Linked DNA regions of Homo sapiens: region 1 is linked to region 2. Evidence: promoter capture Hi-C in 16 types of primary human blood cells and fetal thymus (Javierre and others, 2016). All regions are on one chromosome and are shown on one strand. Each heading gives the region's core, a stretch centred on a gene start or on the middle of the fragment in contact. The rest is flanking DNA. Distances are from core to core; before and after follow the strand shown.

The links. Contacts are between HindIII fragments. The CHiCAGO score rates a contact against its expected background, and 5 or more counts as called.
Region 1: a contact is called between a fragment that was not itself captured here and the fragment with the promoter of VPS29 in region 2, in 1 of 17 cell types (total B cells). The highest score is 5.6, in total B cells.

The regions. Positions count from the first base shown.
Region 1 is chr12:110,724,854-110,730,973 of GRCh38, forward strand. PPP1CC (protein phosphatase 1 catalytic subunit gamma) reads right to left here. Exons shown (of 7, transcript NM_002710.4): 3 at 5,676-5,906. Among named protein-coding and RNA genes, the nearest start is that of PPP1CC, 15 kb to the right of the region's middle. The HindIII fragment of the contact is 1,329 bases long and covers 3,008-4,336 here.
Region 2 is chr12:110,499,991-110,505,773 of GRCh38, forward strand. VPS29 (VPS29 retromer complex component) reads right to left here and starts at 2,121. Exons shown (of 4, transcript NM_016226.5): 1 at 2,059-2,121. The coding sequence starts at 2,061. RAD9B (RAD9 checkpoint clamp component B) reads left to right here and starts at 2,341. Exons shown (of 11, transcript NM_001286535.2): 1 at 2,341-2,393; 2 at 3,816-3,886; 3 at 5,627-5,782. The coding sequence starts at 2,348. RefSeq lists an enhancer at 1,950-2,089. The HindIII fragment of the contact is 1,449 bases long and covers 818-2,266 here.

The sequences.
Region 1 (6,120 bases), core at 2,422-4,921, 230 kb after region 2:
ATTCTGGGTGCCTTTTAAGCAAATGAAACTATGTTTTTATTAAGAATCTTAATAAAACCATCTTATTTTAAGGCTCTTTTAAAATAAGAGCTGGGCGTGGTGGGTCAGACCTGTAATCCCAGCACTTCGGGAGGCTGAGGTAGGAGGATGGCTTGAGCCCAGGAGTTCAAGACCATCTTGGGCAACATAGTGAGACCCCATCTCTTTAAAGAAAGACTCTCCTAGAGGGAAGGGGTTTAGGAGAGACACATATCTGATCTAAAAGCAATGACTTACATTTTCACATGAAATCTTTTTAAATTCCACAGAAGCATGAAACCAGAATTCCAGATTTGATAATGATTAAGGACTGCCATCAAATCCCAGGAATTATCTGGGAGCATCAATTCTGTTTGAAATTGTCTGCTCTGTCCAATCTCACCGCAGCTAGTCCCCTACTTCTGAATTCAATTACGAACTTACACATGTGGCGTTATGACCTTCCTTCTGAGGAAACCTGAGAGTTAGCACCCATCCCCCATATATGCCCCTCAATAACCTACTGACACCAGAGGATCCCCAGCCCTCAGTACTCTAGCAGGAGGCACAATGATCACACGGCAGTGGCTGCCTCTCACAGGCACTACAGGGCATTTGTTTCCAACACTGCACAGACTCCACATGCTCCCACAGGCCTGATGTCACAGGATGGTCATGTTCCCTCAACAGCACAGGCATCCACACATTCTGGAGTCAGAGTGCAGTTCTGACAGAAATATGCCTCTATGCACTGTTTCTACAGGAAACTGATGTTCTGAGTTTAAAACCTAGTCACATACCTTGCAAGAACAAATTTCTCTGGATTGGTTGAGGATTGTCCAATTGTCCAGATGCCTTTGTTTCCTGTACTTACTATACTAAGCACAATCTTTAAAAACCAGGAGTTTGGCCAGGCGCGGTGGCTCACACCTGTAATCCCAGCACTTTGGGAGGCCGAGGCGGGCAGACCATCTGAGGTTGGGAGTTTGAGACCAGCCTGACCAACATGAAGAAATCCCGTCTCTACTAAAAATATAAAAATTAGCTGGGCGTGGTGGCGCATGCCTGTAATCCCAGCTACTTGGGAGGCTAAGGCAGAAGAGTCACTTGAACCTGGGAGGCGGAGGTTGCGGTGAGCCTTGATTGTGCCATTGCACTCCGGCTTGGGCAACAAGAGCGAAACTCCGTCTCAAAAAACAAAACAAAACAAACAAAACAAACCAAGAGTTTGTCCTTAGTCTCTTTTCCTGGGGAATACAGGGACATCTAAAGGTTTAAACCTATACCTCTCCTTTGAGAGTTAGAGCCAGCCCAAGCAACTGACCTGAACCACACCTCCCACCCTGTAATGCAAATCAAGCAGCTTAGGGAGTTTACCACAGGGCTTGAAATGAAATGTAAATTCAACAAATGTTTGCCTTCTCTCTGCAGAGGAGTGTTATCTTTTCTCCTAATAATTTCTGGTTTCTCAATGACTGGGTCTAACACTGACTATGGTTCACCCTGTTGCATATTTCTTTAGAGGTCCTTCACTAGGGGGTTCGGAAAGTTTAACAAACTTCTCCCGCCAGGCTGAGGAAGGAAAATTGCTTGAACCTGGGAGGCAGAGGTTGCAGTAAGCCAAGATCGCACCATTGCACTCCAGCATGGGCAACAAGAGTGAAACTCCGTCTCAAAAAAAAGCAAACTCCTTCTTACGAAAGGCTGAAGGGCAATCTCCAAAAACCACCAACTCCCATTTCCAACAGCAATACTACTACTACTACCACCACAGGATGAGTATCCTTAATCCAAGATGCTCCAAAATTTGGAACTTTTTGAGCACTCACATGATGCTCAAAGGAAATGCTCACTGGAGCATTCTGGATTTCAGATTTTTGGATTAGGGATGTTTAACCAGTAATTATAACACAAATATTCCAAAATTAAAAACAAAAACAAAAAACCTGCAACACTTCTAGTGCCAAGCATTCCCGGTAAGGAATACTTAACCTGTATTATAAAAACAGAGCTGCTGTCTTAGCTCCCCAGTGACAGTGACTTCCTCTTTCCCCAAGGTCAGCTTCACTTCTGGATACTTTTTTTGAGGTGGGGTCTCACTGCATCACCTAGGGGGAATGAAGCGACGCAATCTTGGCTCACTGCAACCATGGTCTCCCAGGTTCCAGTGATTTTCCTGCCTCAATCTCCTGAGTGTCCGCGACTACAGGTGTGCACCACCACAGCTAATTTTTGTATTTTTAATAGAGATGGGTTTTCCCCATGTTGGTCAGACCTCCTGACCTCTTGTGATCAGGTTGAACTCCTGACCTCAAGTGATCCACCCACCTTGGCCTCCCAAAGTGCTGGGATTACAGGCGTGAGCTACCACGCCCCGGCTTTGATTCTTTAGTTATGCCACATACTCCAGCTTCTCCTGCTGATTCCTGCTGGCTTCTCCATCAAAAATCAGTTTGTTTCCTCCTTTTCCCTCTCAGCACTTTAAGCGTGGGCCTGCCTCTTTCTATTCTCTCTTCATTTCCTCCCTAAGGCTACCTCAGACCACTAGGAACATCTGGCTCCTGAAAGGTTTAGCCAGGGTAATCGCCTAGCTTCCAAATCCTAAGATTCTGAGCCATAACCTGTAATGCGGTTTCGCATTACTGTACATCAGACAGCTACGGCAGCAGAAACAGATCAACAAACACTCATGTTTTACCCAACAACATATACCTCAGCCTTTCCATCACATTTACAAAGTTAAAAAAAAAAAAAAAAGAAATGGTAGTATAAAGTACTTATGTACCTGGAAAACAGGCAGTGGTTTTTAAATTGTCCCATGAAAATCAACATTTGAATACAACTTTTCATTTTAATAAAATTAGTTAAGTATTTTATATATATATTAAATGTCTGCAAGCCTTCAACCAAAAGCCACCTATGTCAAGGGCACTTTCATGCCCACAAGTAGACTGGATGGCAAATTATATCTGCCTGATGAGAGAGAGGAAGCTTGAGCATAAGATCTACAAATTGTGTTGATGACCAAACAGGAGTCGAAACTGATACCAACCAACACTGATCTTCTAAGTCATTTTTTAAAGGCCTCTGCATTAAGTAGAAACCGAAACTGATGCAGCCAGTATCATTACATTAGGATACACGTCACAAAAATGAGGTCAACTGGATTTGAATTCATCAGTGCAAACATGAAAAGTATTTGCTGGGCTAACAGCTATGTAAAAGGAATCCTTTAACTCAAGAGCAGGCCAGGCACGGTGGCTCACGCCTGTAATCCCAGCACTTTGGGAAGCAGAGGCGGGCGGATCATGAGGTCAGGAGATCGAGACCATCCTGGCTAACACAGTGAAACCCCGCCTCTACTAAAAATACAAAAAATTAGCCGGGCGTAGTGGCGGGCGCCTGTAGTCCCAGCTACTCGGGAGGCTGAGGCAGGAGAATGGCGTGAACCCAGGAGGCGGAGCTTGCAGTGAGGCGAGATCGCGCCCTGCACTCCAGCCTGGGCGACAGAGCGAGACTCCGTCTCAAAAAAAAAAAAAAAAACAAAAAACAAAAAACTCAAGAGTAACACTTGGAATAAGTATCCAAAACACAGTGTTGGCTGGGTGTGGTGGCTCATGACTGTAATCCCAGCACTTAGGGAGGCTGAGGTGAAAGGATTGCTTAAACCCAGAAATTACAGGTGGTAGTAAGCTATGATCCCACCTCTGCACTCCAGCCTAAGGCTCTGTCTCAAAAACAAACAAAAAAAACCCATCACACCTGCCTTGCATTTCACTACCTAAGGAGTAGTAACTGGCTTACTGGTACTTCTCTGACACAGAATCACTGTTAATATTGAATACCTTTCATGTACAAGTTCAATGCTATCAGTCAGTCCAGAACCCATAGAATTTTTGTCCCTGATGATTCCTGCCACCCCATCTTATCAGCTGGATCTCAAGGTCACAGACCAAGCAAACATCCAGTTGTGGGAAAGGGTGGTAGTAGAAGGGCTCAGTTTGTGAATATAATCTTTCTAGGATGCACTTCTAACAAATGTGCTAGCTCAACATATCTATGTGAATTGAGATGGAAAAACACTGCATCTGGAGACTCTAGGTTACGATGTGGTCTAGGGGAGGGCCACAGGGACAACCCTTTGCTGATATCCCTATAATCATATTAGCAAATGCCAAGTACCTGAAGTTCCTTAACCACCTCTTCACTCCAAACCTGAAACCCGTCCTGGCAGCAATGATGAGCACAAAAGGAAGGTGAAGGTAAAGATTCAAAACCTTTTCTGACTTGAAACCCTTTACTGAACTGATATTTTCAAAGCTTTTTTTTTTTTTTTTTTTTGAGACGGAGTCTCACTCTGCCACCCAGGCTGGACTACTGTGGTGTGATTTTGGCTCACTGCAACCTCCGACTCCTGGGTTCAAGTGATTCTCCTGCCTGAGCCTCCTGAGTAGCTGGGACTACAGGCATCTGCCACCACGCCTGGCTAATTTTTGTATTTTTAGTAGAGATGAGGTTTCCTCATGTTGGCCAGGACGGTCTTGATCTCTTGACCTTGTGATCCACCCGCTGTGGCCTCCCAAAGTGCTGGGATTACAGGCGTGAGCCACTGTGCCCAGCCTATTTTCAAAGCTTTAAGAACTGTGTTTTGTCAATAGTCAAATCGAAGTATACCTTTAATTAAACAATCCAAAATGGGTCACAAAATGTGTAAAATACTGTAAAAATAATCTTTGTTCAGCACATTTTAGTTTTAGGAAAGTTATTGCCATTCTTCCTGGGTGTGGATATGCCAGAAGGAGAAAAACTATAATAATTTCAAAAACTAATTATTTACGTATTGCAAGATTCCATTTGCATGCAATATTCTCTAGAAAAGACAAAAAGTAGATTAGTGGTTGCCTGGGGACTATGGTGATGGTCGCATAACTCTATAAATTTACTACAAATCGCTGAATTGTACACTTTTAACAGAATAATTTTATGGAATGAAATTACATAATAAAGTTGCTTAAAAAAACTATTTGGAATGGTTCTCAGATTTCTACTAAGAATTAAGTTATCTGTGAATACAACAATTTAAATCTTAAAGCAACCATTACCATGATCATTACTTCCTAATCTGATCATCACATCATAAAAGAATCCAAGACCTTATTTTATTACAGCGGCAGTGTTATTTTTCTACCCAAGAGAGAAAAAACTGGCTGGGCATCATGGCTCACGCCAGTAATCCCAGTACTTTGAGTGGCCTAGGCGGGCAGATTCCTTGAGCCAGGAGTTTCAGATCAGCTTGGGCAACAAGGTGAAACCCCATCTCTTCAAAAAAATACACAAATTAGCCAAGCGTGGTGATGCATGTCTGCAGTCCTAGCTACCTGGGAGGCTGAGGCAGGAGGATTGCTTGAGCCTGGGAGGCAGAGGTTGCAATGAGGTAAGATGGTGCTACTGCACTCCAGCCTGGGCAACAGAGTGAGACTCCGTTCCCCCACCCCCCTAAAAAAGCTAAGCTAAAAACAAGTTGATGAAATAGAAAACATGAGAGATGATACCACTGCATCTAAACTCTCACAATTCCTAACAGAAGTATGTGATAATTGTTTATGATAAATATCTTAATTTCAATAACTCTTCCTTAGATATAGAAAAGTACTTACATTCATCATAAAATCCATAAATTCTGTTGATGCTGGCACATTCATGGTTCCCTCTGAGAAGAAAAAAATTCTCAGGATATTTTATTTTGTAGGCCAGTAAGAGGCAGATCGTCTCCAATGACTGCTTTCCCCTGTCCACATAGTCCCCAAGAAACAGGTAGTTGCTTTCTGGTGGGAAACCACCGTACTCAAAAAGTCGCAGCAAATCATAGTATTGTCCATGGATGTCACCTGGAAGCAAGAATTTTGTTACACAGTGTTCCCATACTTAAAGCTCAATCCACTAACAAAGCTTTGGAAAGACATTCTTTAAATATTCATTGTACAATGGCATTGACCTCTAGTAATGAGAGTTTAACTGGGCAGCCAACACTAAGTAATTTCCAATCTTATATCATATTTAGTTCAACTGAGCTTAACAAAAATTTTAAGTATATGTGTATGT
Region 2 (5,783 bases), core at 871-3,370:
TTAATTATTCAAGTATATGGATGTTAATTATCTTACATTCAAAATTCTAGTAGCTGGAAAATTATGCTGCGGCTAGGTGATTTTTTGTAGCTGATGCAACACAGCACCATGAATACATTATCAAGTGTTGAACAAATCAACTAAAGGTGAAGACAAAATAATAAAAACAAACACATTTATTCAGGTAAAACTGGACCTTTCCCACACTTGAATTTGCTGCCCACAGACTCTGGACACTGTACTGAGTGTTGAACGTCTGTATCCTTTGCCAAATAAAATGCTTTTAATCATGAAAGAACTGGCTAATGCTAAATTTTTCCCAGTTCTATTTCATATGAAAAATGATGTTCCAGTACAACTACCCTAAATAAGAGGGATCACTTCTCAAACAACTTGAGAAACATTAATATTTTGAAACCATGGCAAGTAATTATGTCTTCTCCCATGGATAGGTGTCTCGAAATTACTGTAAACGGATTACTTTAAATTGGAGTCTGTTTAGAAGCAAAAATTAAAAGTGAGATTAAAGATTTTAAAGAAGCATGCACCATAAATCTCTGGCTGCCATGTCTGTAAGTCCCCCTCTTGAAAAGGCTGTTTGTCATGCAATAGTAATAATCTTAAAAATGCATAGCTTCTTTGGTTTCCTTGTAAAAATAAAAAAGAATGCAATAAATGCCTGTCAGAGGTAGACGTCCCTTTACAGCCAACCTCCATCAACACAAATATGAAGATAATCACAGCTCCATTTCAAACAATTGATTTTTTTTTTTTTTTTGAGCAGCAGCAAGATTTATTGTGAAGAGCGAAAGAACAAAGCTTACACAGGGTGGAAGGGGACCCGAGTGGGTTGCCCCAAACAATTGACTTTTTAAGAGTCAAAGGCACCTTTGAAAATATGATTACAGGCCGGGCGCGGTGGCTCACGCCTGTAACCCCAGCACTTTGGGAGGCCGAGGCGGGTGGATCATCTGAGGTCGGGAGGTAGAGACCAGCCTGACCAACATGGTGAAACCCCGTCTCTACTAAAAATACAAAAATTTAGACGGGCTTGGTGGCGGGCGCCTGTAATCCCAGCTACTCGGGAGGCTGAGGCAGGAGCTGAGGCTTGAACCCGGGCGGCATTGCAGTGAGCCGAGATCGCGGCATTGCACTCCAGCCTGGGCGACAGAGCGAGACTCCATCTCAAAAAGAAAGAAAGAAAATATGATTACAGCTCTGAGTCCTCTCTAGTAGAGGCCCCCAGTTTTTATGTAGGAAGGTCTGAGGGGCACCAAACTACTGGGGGTGAAGGGGTGATTGCTTGAAGGTGGCTGGGGGAGACTAGGTAAGTCTCCAACACCGGCACTCTCCCCAGAAAAATGTGTATATTCACAAAAATTTCCCAACAGTTTCAATGAGTTCACACATCATTAAGGAATCCTACCCTAAAGAGGCGTAGCAACCCGTGGAAAGAAACAGTTCCAGCAATTGCAAGCGCCAAATCCCGCCCTCTGAGAGCACACCTGCTCATCTCAATGGCAGCTAGATGTTATTTCAGGAGCGAGGAGGGTGGTTTATTCCCTTTCCCTAGATGGCAAAGTTAAACGGGTACGAAATTCTGCTCGCTACTTCCTGTTCTGCATTCGAGAGGCCAGCTTCCACCACTACACCCCAACCAGCGGGAGGTGCTTTTTGCGGGAAACGAGTAGGAACCGTCTGGAAACGGAGGACCGTGCCCCTATCCCCGGAACATTCGAGGTATAGGACCAAAGGCCTTCCCTGGCTCGGGCGTGCGTGTCTCGTGACAGGTCGGGCTGCTAGAGGGGCCTTTTTACCCCTTGGATGGCCTCTGGCCCCTTGGGGCCGGGATACGAGACCTAGGCCAGCCGCACCCAGAGGTGGCCGCTCCCTTCCTTCCCTAGACCTCTTCTGGGCCTTTCCCAGGCCAGCGCCTGGGCCCTGACGCCGAGGCCTCCGGGATTTCCCAATTCCTCGCCCTCGGCCTCCCCACGGCTCCCAACAACGCAGCACCCCACCCGAGAGCCAGGCCTTGGTCGCCGCAACTGCAGCCCTCACCATCCTGTCACCGGGCTCCGCTCAGTCACCACCACCGTCGCCGCCCTCTTCCTCAGGCTCCTCGGCGACCCGCCCACTTAACCGCAACCAATGAGAGCAGAGGGAGACAGAAATTGCCGTACGGAGGCCCGCACGGACCCTTCTCCGCCGTAAAGCCGTTTGGGAACTTGTGGAGGCGGGGTGGTAGAGTGCAGAGACGAGATCGCGAAGCTTTGAAAAGCGCGGGCAACATCCGGGCACCTGGGCCGTCGAGCTGAGGCGCGCCTTCCGAGCCTGCTTTTTAGGGCGGATGGCAGCCATGCTGAAGTGCGTGATGAGCGGCAGTCAGGTGAAAGGTGGAGCGGCCTTTGTTGTCTTCCCATTTAGCAGAGAGAAAAGCAGACGTTAATAGGTCGTCCCTACCATTGTCTAATTTTTCCTCTTTGCCTTTTTGCGCAATGACTGAGGACGCACGCCCTGGCCACAGCCCCACCCACTCAAGTCCCTGTTAACTTCTGAGGGGAGGATGAGGACCCATCTCGTGTGACTTAGAGGCAGATGTAATATGGGTGGTATCCGGGAAATAGAGTTGTACCATCGGGCCACAAACTCGGGATGCTGAGGACTGCATGGGGAAGAGTTGAGAGAAAAAAATAATGCTTGGACAGTAAAAGTATTTTTGTGCCAAGAGAACAGCATTAACCTGGTTTTTTTTTTCCCCAGATTCTACCATTTTTAAAAATGTATGAACTTGGAAAAGTCACTAAATCTCTTTGGGGCTCAGTTTCTAAAACGGAAACAGGGGTAATGACAGCACCTTCGTCACAGAGTTTGTTTGGAGGCAATGAAATGGAAATGCGTGTAAAGAGCCCAGTAATAGATGGAATGTACAAGAACTATTAGTGTTGTAAACGGCGCTTTCAAAATGGAAGTTAGGCCGGGTGCAGTGGCTCACGCCTGTAATCCTAGCACTTTGGGAGGCCAAGGCGGGTGGATCACCTTAGGTCGGGAGTTCGAGACCACCCTGACCAACATGATGAAACCCCGTCTCTACTAAACATACAAAAATTAGCCGGGCTTAGTGGTGGGCGCCTGTAATCCCAAGCTACTTGGAAGGCTGAGGCGAGAGGATCGATTGAGCCCGGGAGGTTGAGGCTGCAGTGAGTTGAGCTCGTGCCACTGCACTCCAGCCTGAGTGTCAGAGTGAGACTCTGTCTCAAAAAAAATAAAAAATAAAAAGAACATTAACAATGTCGTACGGGATCAGACTAGTGTGTTTTCCAGCCCTAAATGTGTTCTGTGGTGGGGAAATCTGGCTGCCCTCAAACATCAGAGATGTATGTTGGATACCCCTAATTTCTCTCTCATGACTTGTTGTGACTTGGCTATCAAGCTATTAAAACCACTTCAGATTATCTTCTCCATGCACTGTTTTCACAGTTTTTGGGGGGTCAAATACATTTATCTAAATCAAGTTGTAAAATACATTAGTATGGAAATTGGTTTGCACAGTAGCTCCATGCAACACTGTAAACATATAGAAGGACAAATTTCGGTCAATTTTATCATTTCACACACTACAAATTTATTGAGCCCTGACTATGTGTCTGGCATTTTGCCAAGGGTATTATACTGTATTAAAGTAATGTAGCATTAGTCTGTAAGATACTGTTATTTTTGAATTTCTCTTGAGTCCTCTGAATGCTGAACTAGTCTTGTGATTTGTTTTTATTGTTAGAGGGAAAGAATATAAGCATCACCTTTCTTTTTCTCCATAGTATTTGGGAAAGCAGTTCAAGCTCTATCACGAATTAGTGACGAGTTCTGGCTAGACCCATCTAAAAAAGGTGTAAGTAAGAAAGTTAACAGATCACGTATCAAGGCAAGAGGAGATGTTTAAAGATCCCAGTCCAGATTGAATGTTAACTAGGAAATCCAGAAATTGTAATTATCCCTTTCACTGTTTATCTTTATTTTACATATCTGAATACACTTAGAGCATGGTAAAGTTGAAAATATGCAGATAAGCTTGATTGATTTAAACTGGAAGTCACAAACTGGTAGTTAAGAGACTAGCTACGGTCTGCAGGAATGTTTGTTGGCCTGCACTGTTTTTTTTTTTTTTTAATTTGAAATAATTTCCAACATTTAAAAATTGAGGCCGGGCGCGATGGCTCACGCCTGTAATCCCAGCACTTTGGGAGGCCGAGGTGGGTGGATCACCTGAGGTCAGGAGTTCGAGACTAGCCTGGTCCACATGGTGAAACTCCTTCTCTACTAAAAATATAAAAATTAGCCTGGCATGGTGGTGGGCACCTGTAATCCCAGCTACTCGGGAGGCTGAGGTGGGAGAATTGCTTGAATCCAGCAGATGGAGGTTGCAGTGAGTGAGCCGACATGGTGCCACTGCACTCCAGCCTGGGCAACAGAGTGAGAGTGAGACTCCGTCCCAAAAAAAAAAAAAAAAAAAATTGAGTCAAATTTTTCCTGCTTCTCTTGAAAATTCAGAAGACCTGACAGTTTTGGGACTGCATTCATTCCCAAGTGGAAGTAGTTGGCTGAAACTGAGTAATGGTTTCCCCGCTTAGACAAGGTGTGAGACCGCCAATATGCTGTAACTCCCTTATATATTGCAACTCCCTTATATATTGCCTTTTGCCATTTCACACATTAAGGTTAAGGCTCATGACTGGGTGTGGTAGTTCACAAATGTAATCCCAGCACTTTGGGAGGCTGAGACAGGAGGATCACTTGAGCCCAGGAGTTCGAGACCAGCCTGAGCAACAAAGCAAGACACTACCTGTCTCTACAAAAAAATTTTAAAAATTAGTCGGGTGATATGTTGTGTGCCTGTAGTCCCAGCTACTTGGAAGGCTGAGAGGAGGGAGGATTGGTTGAGGCCAGGGGTTTGGAGGCTGCAGTGAGCTGCGGTGGTACCATTGCACTCCAGCCTGGCCAACAGGCTGGTTTTTTGAAAAAAAGTAAAAAAGAAATTAAAAGAAAGTTAAGGCCCCTGTAGGCATTTACTATTTTATGTTTTCAACATGTAAACTTTTAGATTTAACACATATATGTATTCAATATAATATACATATATGTATACACCTATATATACGTACATGCTTGTATATATACATGTATGTACACCTATATGTATGTATATATATAGGTGTATAATAAATTAACAGACTTGTCCTGAATGCCATTTAAACTATCAAGTATAGAATACAGGTTATGTCCTGTATATATTATAGGTGTACATATATGTATATATATGCAAATTCAATACAGACTATATAGGGCAGTCCATAATTAACATCCCATGTTCTTATTTGAACACATTTAACTGTGATGTTAAACATAATGACGTTTTCTGAATCAAGCTATTATGTAAAGAAAGTTTATTTTCTCCTAAATTTTTTTAAAATAAAAAAATAGAGGTGGGGTCTTGCTCTGTTGGCCAGGCTGGTCTCAGACTCCTGGCTTCCATCCATCCTCCTGCCTTGGCTTCCCAAAGTGCTTGGATTACAGGTTCATGGGAGCCACCATGCGCAACCTCTCCTAAATAGTTTTTATCTTATTTTTCTAGCTTGCTCTAAGATGTGTGAATTCTTCTCGGTCAGCATATGGATGTGTCCTGTTCTCTCCTGTGTTTTTTCAGCATTATCAATGGTCAGCTTTAGTGAAAATGAGTGAAAATGAACTTGACACAACACTGCATTTAAAATGCAAATTGGGAATGAAGG